Linked DNA regions of Homo sapiens: all the other regions are linked to region 2. The links are contacts of gene promoters, found by promoter capture Hi-C in blood cells and fetal thymus (Javierre and others, 2016). All regions are on one chromosome and are shown on one strand. Each heading gives the region's core, a stretch centred on a gene start or on the middle of the fragment in contact. The rest is flanking DNA. Distances are from core to core; before and after follow the strand shown. Region 1 overlaps SERGEF (secretion regulating guanine nucleotide exchange factor). Region 2 holds the start of KCNC1 (potassium voltage-gated channel subfamily C member 1). Region 3 overlaps SERGEF (secretion regulating guanine nucleotide exchange factor).

What was found. Contacts are between HindIII fragments. The CHiCAGO score rates a contact against its expected background, and 5 or more counts as called.
Region 1: a fragment that was not itself captured here is called in contact with the fragment with the promoter of KCNC1 in region 2 in 2 of 17 cell types (megakaryocytes and M2 macrophages); the score reaches 6.4 in megakaryocytes.
Region 3: a contact is called between a fragment that was not itself captured here and the fragment with the promoter of KCNC1 in region 2, in 1 of 17 cell types (fetal thymus). The highest score is 9.4, in fetal thymus.

Annotation. Positions count from the first base shown.
Region 1 is chr11:17,939,987-17,943,873 of GRCh38, reverse strand. All of the region lies in intron 9 of SERGEF (secretion regulating guanine nucleotide exchange factor), which reads left to right. Among named protein-coding and RNA genes, the nearest start is that of SERGEF, 71 kb to the left of the region's middle. The HindIII fragment of the contact is 1,909 bases long and covers 951-2,859 here.
Region 2 is chr11:17,732,244-17,736,030 of GRCh38, reverse strand. KCNC1 (potassium voltage-gated channel subfamily C member 1) reads right to left here and starts at 1,250. Exons shown (of 4, transcript NM_001112741.2): 1 at 1-1,250. The coding sequence starts at 28. RefSeq lists a silencer at 1,311-1,410. The HindIII fragment of the contact is 3,804 bases long and covers 477-3,787 here.
Region 3 is chr11:17,903,181-17,906,546 of GRCh38, reverse strand. All of the region lies in intron 9 of SERGEF (secretion regulating guanine nucleotide exchange factor), which reads left to right. Among named protein-coding and RNA genes, the nearest start is that of SERGEF, 110 kb to the left of the region's middle. The HindIII fragment of the contact is 2,401 bases long and covers 489-2,889 here.

The DNA.
Region 1 (3,887 bases), core at 656-3,155, 210 kb before region 2:
AGATTTGGGAATATGAGTTAATTGTAAACAGGAGTTCTTTGTGTGGTTCTTTCAACTTTTATCTAGGTTTGAATTTACTTCAAAATAAAAAGATTTGAAAAACTTCGAACAATAATGAAAGTAGAGCACATCAGTGTTTGTGGGATGCAGCTAAAGCAGTACTTTGAGGGAAATTTATATCTTTAAATGAATATATTAGAAAAGAAAAAGGACTAAATTCAACTGCTTAAGGTTCTACCTTTAGAAGTTGGAAAAAGAGTAAAAATAAACCTGAAGTAAATAGAAAGAAGAAAATAATAAAGGAAAGAACAGAAGTTAATGAAATAGAAAGGAGAGAAAAATAAAAGTTCAAAAGCAATTCTTTGAAAATATCAACAGAATTGATAAAGCCCTACCTGGACTATCAGGAAAAACAAGGTCACAAAATGCAAATATTAGAAATGAAAGTAGGTATGTCACTACAGATTATGTAGACATTAAAGGAGACTAAGGAAATATTACAAATAACTTTATGCCTATAAATTCAGCAACTTAGATAAAATGGATTAATTTTTGAAAAACTACAGTGTACAAAAACACAAGAGGAAATTGAAATAGAAAATCAGAATATCTGTATGTCTAGTAAAGAAATCAATTTATTATCAAAAACTTTTCCACAAAGAACTCTTTAGGCCTAGGTGGTTTCTCTAATAAACTTTATCAGATATTTAAGTAAGGAAATAGTACTATTTTTACACAAACTCAGAAAATAAAGGAGGGGACACTTCCAAATTTATGAAGTCAGCATAATTCTGATACCAAAGACATTACAAAAAAGAAAATTATTGATTAGTATCCCTTATGAACATAAACACAAAAATCTGCAACAAAATATTAGCAAATCAAATCCATTAATATTTAAAAAGGATAATATATCATGACCAAACTATGTTATCTCAGGAATGAAAGCTTGCTTTTTCACTTGAAAATCAATTTAATTCATCATGTATTAACAAAATAAAGGAGAAAAACCATAATAATAACTTCAACAGTTGTGGAAAAATCATTGACAAAATTTAACATTTATTTGTGATAAAAACTTAGCAAATTAGAAATGGAAGGGAATTTCTGCAGTTTAATAAGGGGCACTTATAAAGCACTAACATGATAATTGATGGTGAAAAATTTAATGTATTCCTTCTTAGATCAGAATGAGGCAAGTATGTCCTCTCACCATTTTTATTCACTATTATACTGGATGGAGGTTCTAGCCAGTGCCATAAAGCAAGAAAAAGCAATAAAAGGCTTAAAATCAGAAAAGAAGAGGTAAATCTGTTTCTATTCACAGATGATATGATTGTTGAATTATAAAATCTAACAAATCTATAAAATAACTATTAGAACCAAAATGGCAATTTAGCAAGGTACAAAATCAACGTTCAAAAATCAACTTTTTTTTTATATAGCAGCATCAAAGAATTGGAAAATTTTTAAAAAGCAGTTTTTTTACGATTATAATTTTACAGTTATATCAAAAAGTACAAAATATTTAGGTATAAACTTAACAAAAACGTGCAAGACTTGTACATAAAAACTACAAAACACTGCTGGGAGAAGTTAAAGACCCAATTAATTGGAGAGAGATATCACACTCACAGATTGGAAAACTCAATGTTGTTAACTTGTCAGGTCTTCCCAAGTTGACTTGTAGATTTAAAGCAACCCCAATCAAAATCTCAAGAGACTTTTTTGGGGGTTGAAGTTGATAAGCTGATTCTGACATTTATATGGAAACATAAAAGGCTGTGACTATCCAAAGTAATCTTGGAAAAGAAGAATGAAGTTGCAAGATCCACCTAACCCGACTTCAAATTTGCTATAAATCTACAAGGTCTCAGCAACAACAAAAACCAAACAGCCCAATTTTAAAAAAGGGCAAAGGACTTGAATGGACATTTCTCTAAAGATAATATACAAATGACCAAGATTATGTGAAAAGTTGCTCAACATCCCTAATCATTAGAGAAGTACAAATCAAAACCACAATGAGATACCACCCAACACCTATTAGAAGGGCTACTATACCAAACAGAAAATAAGAAGTGATGGCCAGAATGTAGAGAAATTGGAACCCTTGTGCACTATTGGTGGGAACGTAAAATAGTGCAGCTGCTGTGGAAAACAGCATGACAGTTCCTCAGAGCATTAAAAATAGAATTACCATATGATCCAGTAATTCCACTTCTGGATATATATCCAAAAGAGTTGAAAGCAGAATCGTGAAGATATATATGCATACCCATGTACATAGCACCACTATTCACAATACCCAGAAAGTGGAAGCAACCCAAGTGTCCATCAAAGGATAGACGATAAACAAAATGTGATATATACATGCAATGGAATATCATTCCGTCTTAAAAAGGAAGGGAATCCTGACATATACTACAACATAGATGAACCTTGAGGACCTTAAGATAAGCAAAATAAGCTAGTCACAAAAAGACAGATACTGTATGATCCTGGGATGGGTACAGAGTTTTAGTTTTGCAAGATGAAAAGAGTTCTGGAGATGGATGGTGGTGATGGTTGTAGAACAATGCGAATATACTTCACACCACTGAACTGTACACTTAAAAATGGTTAAGATGGTAAATTTTATGTTATGTATATTTGCCACAATTTTAAAAATTGGAGGAAAGACTCATCAGCATATGTGAAGGACACTTGTATCTACAACTTATTTTAAAATACATTTAAAAAGATTGGTGAATAGAGAGAGGGATGGCTAGATTTGTGATTAAAGCAAATACAGAAAAATGTTAACTATAGAATCTAGGTAGTAGGAATATGAGTGTTCATTGTACAATTATTTAAGCTTTTCTGTATGTTTAAGCTTTTCTGTATGTTTAAGCTTTTCTGTGTGTTTAAAAATGTTTATAATAAATATTGGTGGAGAAACCAAATTGTGAGGAAACAGAAAACTTATTTGTAATGCTTTTGGCCACAATTCAGCAGAAGTACAGTGACTCGGAGCCTGCCTTGAGCAGTGGGTGGTCTGACCTTGGGCGGTGGTTCATATCTCAGCCTTTGCACTTACTTTCTCCAGTGTAAGACTGAAGGAACACTAGAAAGGGGCCGTAAGACTGATCATCAAGCCGGTCATGGTGGCGTGTCCCCGTGGTCTCAGCTACTCGGGAAGCTGAGGCAGGAGGATCTCTTGAGCCTGGGAGTTAAAGGCTGCAGTGAGCGATGATCATACCACTGCACTCCAGCCTGGACAACAGAGTGAGAGAGAGAGAAAAAAAGACTGATCACCATTTTTCAAAGAAATGGTTGTGTGTGGGTTTGGGCAGAGCATGGGAAACTGACATTGAGGGCTTCCTTACCTAGCATTCTACATGTACACTGTCTTGTTTATTTCTGCCATTAGTAATAATAAGTTATGTACATGTTATTGTCTCTGTTTTACAGTTGGGTGGGCGGTGGTGGGGGATGCGGTCACTGGAACTCAAAGAGGCTAAGTATGCTGCATAGCTGAGCAGGGCCTTCAACCCAGATAATCTTGACTCACCATGCACCGTCTTTTCCTCTATCCCAGATGGCCTTGTTAGCATCCTGGGATATTGATGTCTTGCCCACAAGGAGAGGAATGTTTAGAGTGCAAGGTGGCTTGGGTTTTCTTTGACCCCTCTTTTTTGGTCTGAAACGTGCTATTCTAACTTCCCTGTTGAACCCACCATACTGGACTCAGTTCATTTGCTAGACCTCTTCCCATTCAGCTTTCTTCTTCTTTGTTAGACTGGAGGTGGAAAGGAGGAACCAGGCTAGATAGTATACTGCCTGTTTTATTAGAAAGGTTTTTCTGGGGCTCTTTCCTCTGTAATAAACATGTTTAATTCCAAATA
Region 2 (3,787 bases), core at 1-2,500:
TGCGCTCGCTCTCGTCCCCTTGGCCCATCGCGGCGCCCCCTTAGGCATGGCGCGGCCCAGCGACACCCATGGGAGCGGCCGCCAGGGGGAGTTGGCGCCGGGGAGGGGGGCGCGCGCCCTCTTCCCCCCTCCCCCCAGCCGTCGGGGGGAACAGAGGCCTGCGGCTCTGGCCACCCCAACGAGCGAGCCAAGCCTCTCCGGGCGCTTTGTCGGGTGCCGGTCCAGGGGAATGTGCGCGGGATCCCAGGGGTCTCTAGGAGCCAGATGTGGGAGGGAGCTGGTCCGGCAGCGGAGGAGGCAGAGGAGGAAAGAAGGGAGGGAGAAAGGGAGGGAGAAAGGGAGGGAGGGAGGGAGTGAGGGGGAAAGAGGGAGGGGGGCGGGCTCAGCAGCGAGCCCCGGGAGGTGGGGAAAATGGGTTGGGGGGCCGGGCTCCCGTCCCCATCTCCGCGGGAAAATGGAGAAATCGGCACAAAGCTTTTGGGGGAAAGGTCAGCCGCTCCCGGGGCCGGACTAGAGGCCAGCCCCCAGGAGGGGGAGGGGAGGAGACAGGGCCGGGAAATTCGCGCTCCTCTGTGAGGTGGTCGCCGCGGCGCGCTCTCGGCGCGGGGGAGATGGATGCCGCCTGCCTTCCTCCCTGCGTGGCCGGGCTGCAGCTCGGGACGCAGGGCGGGCTCCGGCCCCCTCCCTCTCTCCTTGCTTGGCTGCCTGCTCCCCCCGGCGGCGGGCCCGCCTGCCCGCCCGCCCTCCTCGTTCCTTCTCCCCGCCTCCTGGAGGAGATGGCGGGCCCCCTGGGCAGGGGCACCCGGGGTGTTGCTCGTGCGGCTAACGCCGAGCGCTGCTCTCCGTGAGCCCGGGCTCGAGCTGGGGTTCCGCTGGGCTGCGCTCGGACTTGGGCTCCCGCGGCGGTGCTGAAGGGACAGCTCCCGGCGGTCGCGGAGCTGCACGGGGCCAGGCGGGGGTTCTCCTGGCTGGGTTTGATTTGCGGGGCCGGCGGGCACTGGCTCCGGTGCCTCTGCGCCCCGCACTCCGCTCCTCGCTTCGGGCAGGCGGTGGGCGCTGCCGGCCGAGACGGGGGCTGCGGAGGTCGGGCGGGGAGGCGGGGGTGGCGGGTCCGGGCGCGGCGAGGTGAGGCCAGCGAGGCCGGTGAGGCGAGGCGCGGAGCGGCCGCTGCCGCCGCCGCCGCGACGCTGCTGCCGCCCGGGCTGCTGCTCCGCTTGCTGCTCGCCCGTCGCCTGCTCGTTCGCGCGGTCCGCGTCCAGCCCGCCGCTCTCCGGACACGGGCACACGGCGCGCGCAGCCGCACTCGCCCCCGGAGGAAGGCGCCGCGCTGGGTCCTAAAAAGCCCTGATTCCGCGCCCCCCTCCCAGCCCCGCACCGAGCCCGGCCTCCCTCAACCTCGGCGCTGGGGGCGCCCGCCCCGCGCGGCTCCTGCTGCTCCCGGGGGACCCGCCCACGGTCCGCCCTCGGGGAACGCCACTCCAGGGGCGGGGGCTCCGAGAGACGTCTGGGCCCGCGCCCCCGGGTCAGACTGAGGTGAGAAGGGCGTTGGCACCCTCCCCTTGCCTTCCAAACCAGGGACCATCTGATCCCTGGTGAGACAAAGCTCTCCCGGAGTTTTGTCATCAGAGACACCCTGGCCCGGACCAGTGCTGACCGCTCCAAGGAATCCTTTAATACCGACCCTTCTCGCGGAACCTGGAGGCCCCATGTTCCTTCCATGGGTAATGTCTTGCATGAACCCCAACACACACACACACACACACACACCACGTTATCCTCTACGCCCTCCACTAACAATCAATCCTGGACCCCTATTAACCCCTTTGGACTCCTTACTGACCCTGGGCCCTTTATAGCTTCAGACAGAGGGAGTCTCCCATGAGTGCCACATCCATCCAAGCTCACGGACTCTCCCACACTAACCCTGGATCCCTAGGTGGAGACCCCTTATGAAAAGGACCTTCTGCCCTCAGAGGTCAGAAGCAGCAACTGCTCGTAGTTTCCCTGAGCACTGACACCCCCACCCCGCACTTCCTAGGGCTTCAACTGCCCTGGGTGATAAGCTGGTGTTATGTCTGGGAGCTGGGTGGGAGCTGCTGCTTGCTGTGATTCCTCCATCTTCACAGTTGGTCCTGGGGGTGGGAGTTCCAGTTTGAACCTCAAAGCCTTCCTGGCCCATGCCTGCTGCTAGTGCCTTGGTTTACTCAGTAAAGCAATCACTCCTTTACTCCTTACTTGTTTCAGGATCCGTCCCAGGCACAAGGACACAAGAGATGAATCTGACCCAGCCTCTGGCCTTGAGAAGCTCCCAGCCTTCTGGGGAGGTGGCCAGGTGGGCCTAGGCAGGACTGGGGAGGTCAGGCCCGTCTCCAGGGGTGGCTGGGGTGGGAAAGAGGCTTATTGATCCCAGCTCAACCCAATCGAACACAGGATGCCTGGGCAAAGGGCGATTTAATTAAGAAGATATGAGGCTTTTATTACTGCTGGCACTTTCTAACTGTGCAGACAGCTGTCCCTCTACCCTGACCCACAGATGCCGTTGTGAGCCTGGGGACAAAGCTGTGCCACAGACATCGCTCTCCTTACTTGGCCAGGGGAATCCCAATCTAGCCACAGGAAAATCTGTGTGTGGTGGGTAAAAGGCTTGAAGGGGTGGAGAGGGGCAGGGCAAGGATTGACAGATGGGAATAGGACAAGGGGAGAGACAGAGAGGCTAAATTAAGTCAGAAATGGGCAGAGTTGGGCAGAGACAAAGAGAGGGTTGGATTTTGGGGCCTGCATGGCACCTCCTCCCTCCAGATATTGATCTGTGTGATTCCTCTAAATAGGAGCTGTTTCCCCTTCAATCTCAGAGTAATGCAGGGATGAGAGTGATTTTGAGTGTCCCTTTCACCCTGACCAGTGTGAGTCCCCATCTCCTAACCACAAGGAAGCCTGGCCTGGTGTGGCCCGGCCTGGTGTGGCCCATCCTGGCCCATATTCAGATCCCCGGGACATGGGTTCTCAGGAAATTCTGTCCCAACATTGGTAGAAGATGAAATAGAAATGGAGAATCCAGAAGGAAGAGAAAAAGGTGGACACAGAGGCAGACACATACACACACACACACACACACACACACACACACACACACACACACACACAGCTGGGAGAAATCAAGATGGGGAGAGACAAGAAAGCAGCCTCTCCAAACCTTCCTTTCTTTCTACCCAGATGTCCAGCCCCTCTTCTCACCCAAGAATCTTCTGGGATTCTACTAGCCATAGGGTTCCAGGACTTCACCTCTCTCTTCACCTGCAGAACCACACGGGATCAGAGTATGGCTCCTGATCTTCTCCATAGCTCATCTGATCTCCATAAAAGGACCATCAGCTCCTCCAGGGCTTCTTGTTTGCTTCCCTCCAGAGTGCCCAGAATACAGTAGATCCTCACTAAGGTCCAGATGATTTGAGAAAGGCTAGGAGAGAGGCTGGGATCCTAGAACCCAAGTGGCAGAGACTGTGGGAGTCTGGAACACCTAATGGAGACCAAGTCAGGAGGAGGGACTTACCCAGGGTTTTTTAGGGAATCAGTGCAGGGCCCCATCACTACGCCATGGCGAGTCCTAATAGGGGGCTGCAGTGTGACCCAGGCAGTTGGGGAGGGGGCACAGAGAGACAGAGAGAAACAAGGGGCTCCTGGTAGGCAGAAGGTTGGGTGATTAGGGGCTCTGGACGATGTGTTAGAAAGAGGGAGGTAGGCCAGGGTTGGAGGCAGAAGGAATGTGAAAGGGTATTCATTGCACCCT
Region 3 (3,366 bases), core at 440-2,939, 170 kb before region 2:
AGCCTGAGCCACCAAGCGCCCCACCCCCACTTAGCTCTGTGCTGCAACCCCCACCCCACCAACCCCCTTTGCAGGTGATTGTTCCTGTGGCCATTTTGCCTTCTGTTTCTCTAAAGACCACAAAGCTTTTATATCTCGCAGCTCAAGAATGGCTTTTTCTCAATAAAAAAGACAGAGACTGGTTTAGACCGAAACTTCGTTAGCCACTGGTATTCTAAACCATGGATCAAGTCTTTTGGCTTTGCAGAGCTGGTTTTGTCAGGAGGCTGAAACTGGGTTTGAGAGTTCTGCACGGTAATGAGGAAAGGGTTGGTAATGTTTCAGTTTGCCTGTCTCCTGTATTCCCTTCCTTATCAGCCCACCCCTCCCCGTGCCCTGCTCCAACTATGTAGCATCCACCTCTGACAGTGTCAGTGCTGAGCACCAACACAAATTAGGAGCTCCTAGAGAAGGAATGAGTGGTTATGCCAGAAGGGTCAGGGGAAGCTTCTTGAAGGCAGTGGCATTCAAACTAGGTTTTGAGTGATGAATTGGGTCAAGACAGGAAGAAATGAAGGGAAGATGCTAGTGGCCTCCCATGCTGGTCTCAGGACTGCCTTGTTAAGGCTGGAGACCTCCTCAGCAATCTGGGGTTGGAATCTATTTCAGAATTTCGAGGCTGACTGAGACCCTAAGGATCTGCTCATCCAAGCTCCTTATTTTATTTATTTATTTATTTATTTTTCAAGCTCCTTATTTTAGAGATGGGCAGACTAAGGGACAGAGAGGAAAGGACCAGAGCATAGGCCAGTCTAGTGCTGTTACAACCACACAGTTCCCATTTGTGCACTTGTCCTCATTTCTAATGGGTCTCTGAAAACATTCACTTCTTCTTTCTGGGTTTCACTCCTGTCACCTCTGACTCCTGTCATGTGAGCTCTGAGAGACCCAATGGTCTCCACTTATAAATTACCCATTAGAGAAGGAGCCCTGGGTCCTGCTGACTTTGGATTCCAAGGTCACTCCAATCTCTGCCAGATAACTGCATCCTTCCTCCTCAGACTAAGCCTGGTTCAGCCAGTGCTGGTTGTTCAGCAAGGCTGGTGCCTCCCCAAGAATGCTTGGTAGGAATGGGTCTTGCCTCAGAGCAAGGGCTCAGATTCTCACAGTCAGAAAAGCTGAGTGTGTCAAGAACCCAGGCCATTGCACTTTTATGCTATTCTGTGAGAAAACTGGGCTCATTGTGACTAAAAATTGTTTCAATAAATTACACTTCAATTTATTGAAATTTGCTTTAAAGACAATGTTTGTTAGAACATTTAAATTCTGTACAGCATCTCTTTCGCTTTTGAAGAGAAACAGAGGGTGGAATAAAAGCAATCTCCCTAATAAATTTTCCTGGATATTTTGGATAGTCTCCAGTATGAGGAATGTTGTCTTTGGACCAAGTATTGATGTTACAACTGAAATGCAGAAATGTGTACCCATATTCTTATAGATGTACTAAAGTTTGCTAATCAAATGAAGTATTTGTGTAGGATCTTTCAGGGCCAATTTCAAGACCAACATGTTTTGGAAGACAGTTGATATTTCAGATGTCAAGTAGTCTCTGGGTTGAGCAAAGTTGGAAAAACAGATGAACCCATTAGGATAGGTGAAACTTCTGCCTGTGAGAATTAGGCTTTGATGACCCAGGGAATCAGGCATCCAGGACTGATCCAGTTCTCAAGCAGAAGTTTCTGTCTTGCACTGCATTGCATTGTGTTTTGGGTCAGAGAAGGTGGTTTTAAATGCCTCTAAATAATTTCCTTGGTCTTGGAAGGTTATATCTGTTTGCAGACTGGTAGGCCTTGCATCTAGTTGGTATTTACTAAAATAAAGAAAGAGGGAGAAGGAAAGAAGAAATGCTTCTTGATACCTAGGGAGGTTTCTACTCAGAGGCTGACATAGTCATATAAATTTCCATTTATTCTTAAACTAGGACTTGTCACTAGAGTCACCTAACAGTTCATAGAAATGGTTTGAATAGACAGAGTAAAGCTGGAGAGAGATTATAATTTGAAGTTTATCAAGAGTCACCTCTCTTCCTAGAACAGTTACATTAAAGGAATTGAAAGGCAGGGCCTGTGGCTATAGTCGAATGCCCCAGCGGGGCTCAGTCTGGCATGGTGGAGGCTGGCTGGGTAGTCTTTCCAGGATCCCAGCCTCTTTGGTCATGGACATTTATCTTAAGAGTAGACTTTAGTCCTCAACCATTCACTTTTAGCTGCTGCAAAGGGTACCTTGGAGAACCCCCACTCTTTTCCTTGAGGACTTCACTTCTGCTTCACTGGTTCAGGCTGTGGCCAATGTTCCTACTTCCAGCCTTGGAAATGCTTTTCTGTTTCTTGGAGCCCTCATTAGCCCTCTGATACAAAATCAACACAGGGTCTAAAGCAGTGGGCTGCATTTTCTCCTCTTCCCTCGGCTTTGCTACTATCCCAATCCCTGAACACTTCCCTGCATATACTCCCCTGGCCCTAGATACCTACTCCTCTGTTCTAGGCACACAGAGCAGTTGTGGGCTAACTGATCTGGCACTTGTGGTGATGCCTGCAAGGCCTACACGGCCAAGGTGAAGGAGGGATTATAGTGTTCATAGTTGATGGCTGTTACCTTGTCACTTAAGATGACCTACGGAAGTGGAGACTCCCCTTTCCCTTTTTCTCCACGGCTGTCCTCTTCCCTACATTAATGACTCCTCAGTTCTGATCATGGTTAGAAAGCTCAGGCAGCTTCAGTGTGCCTCTTCCTTCCTTCCATATTTATCTGTTCAATGATCAAATCCTGTGATTTTTACCTTTGGAATTTCTTTTATATCTCTCCCCGTGTTTTAACTTTTGCTGCCACCTGAACAATTGCAAATAAGCTTCTCTTCCCAAAGCTCTGCTCTGGAAATGTCTGTCCTGGTTGCAGCCTCTACAATGTCAGCTTCCATTGCTTGCTGCCCAGGCCTCTCCTCATTTACTTGTTTGCATCTCAGGCTTTTATACTAAATGTTCATTAAACATTCTACAATCTATCTAGGGTAACCTTGTCAGAACAGGGAGGGAAAAAGGAAATATCTATCTTCTTTCTTGTCATTTCTCTCAGATGAATGAATTAAATATTTTTATTGCCTTGAAGATTAATTATCTTCTGTCCCCAGGCCAGCTTTAGTATTCTAGCTGTATCTTCTTGTGACTGGACCTGCCAGTTGGAGTTTCTGCCCCCACTCTCAACTCTGTGTTTTTGCCAGGTTTTTCTTCATCATCATATCATGTAGGCTTCCGCAGTGAGTCACAGTCCAGGGGTTCAGAGAGACTAGAGTGTGACCTGCAGGGTTTAGAATAAATTTTGAATTATCTA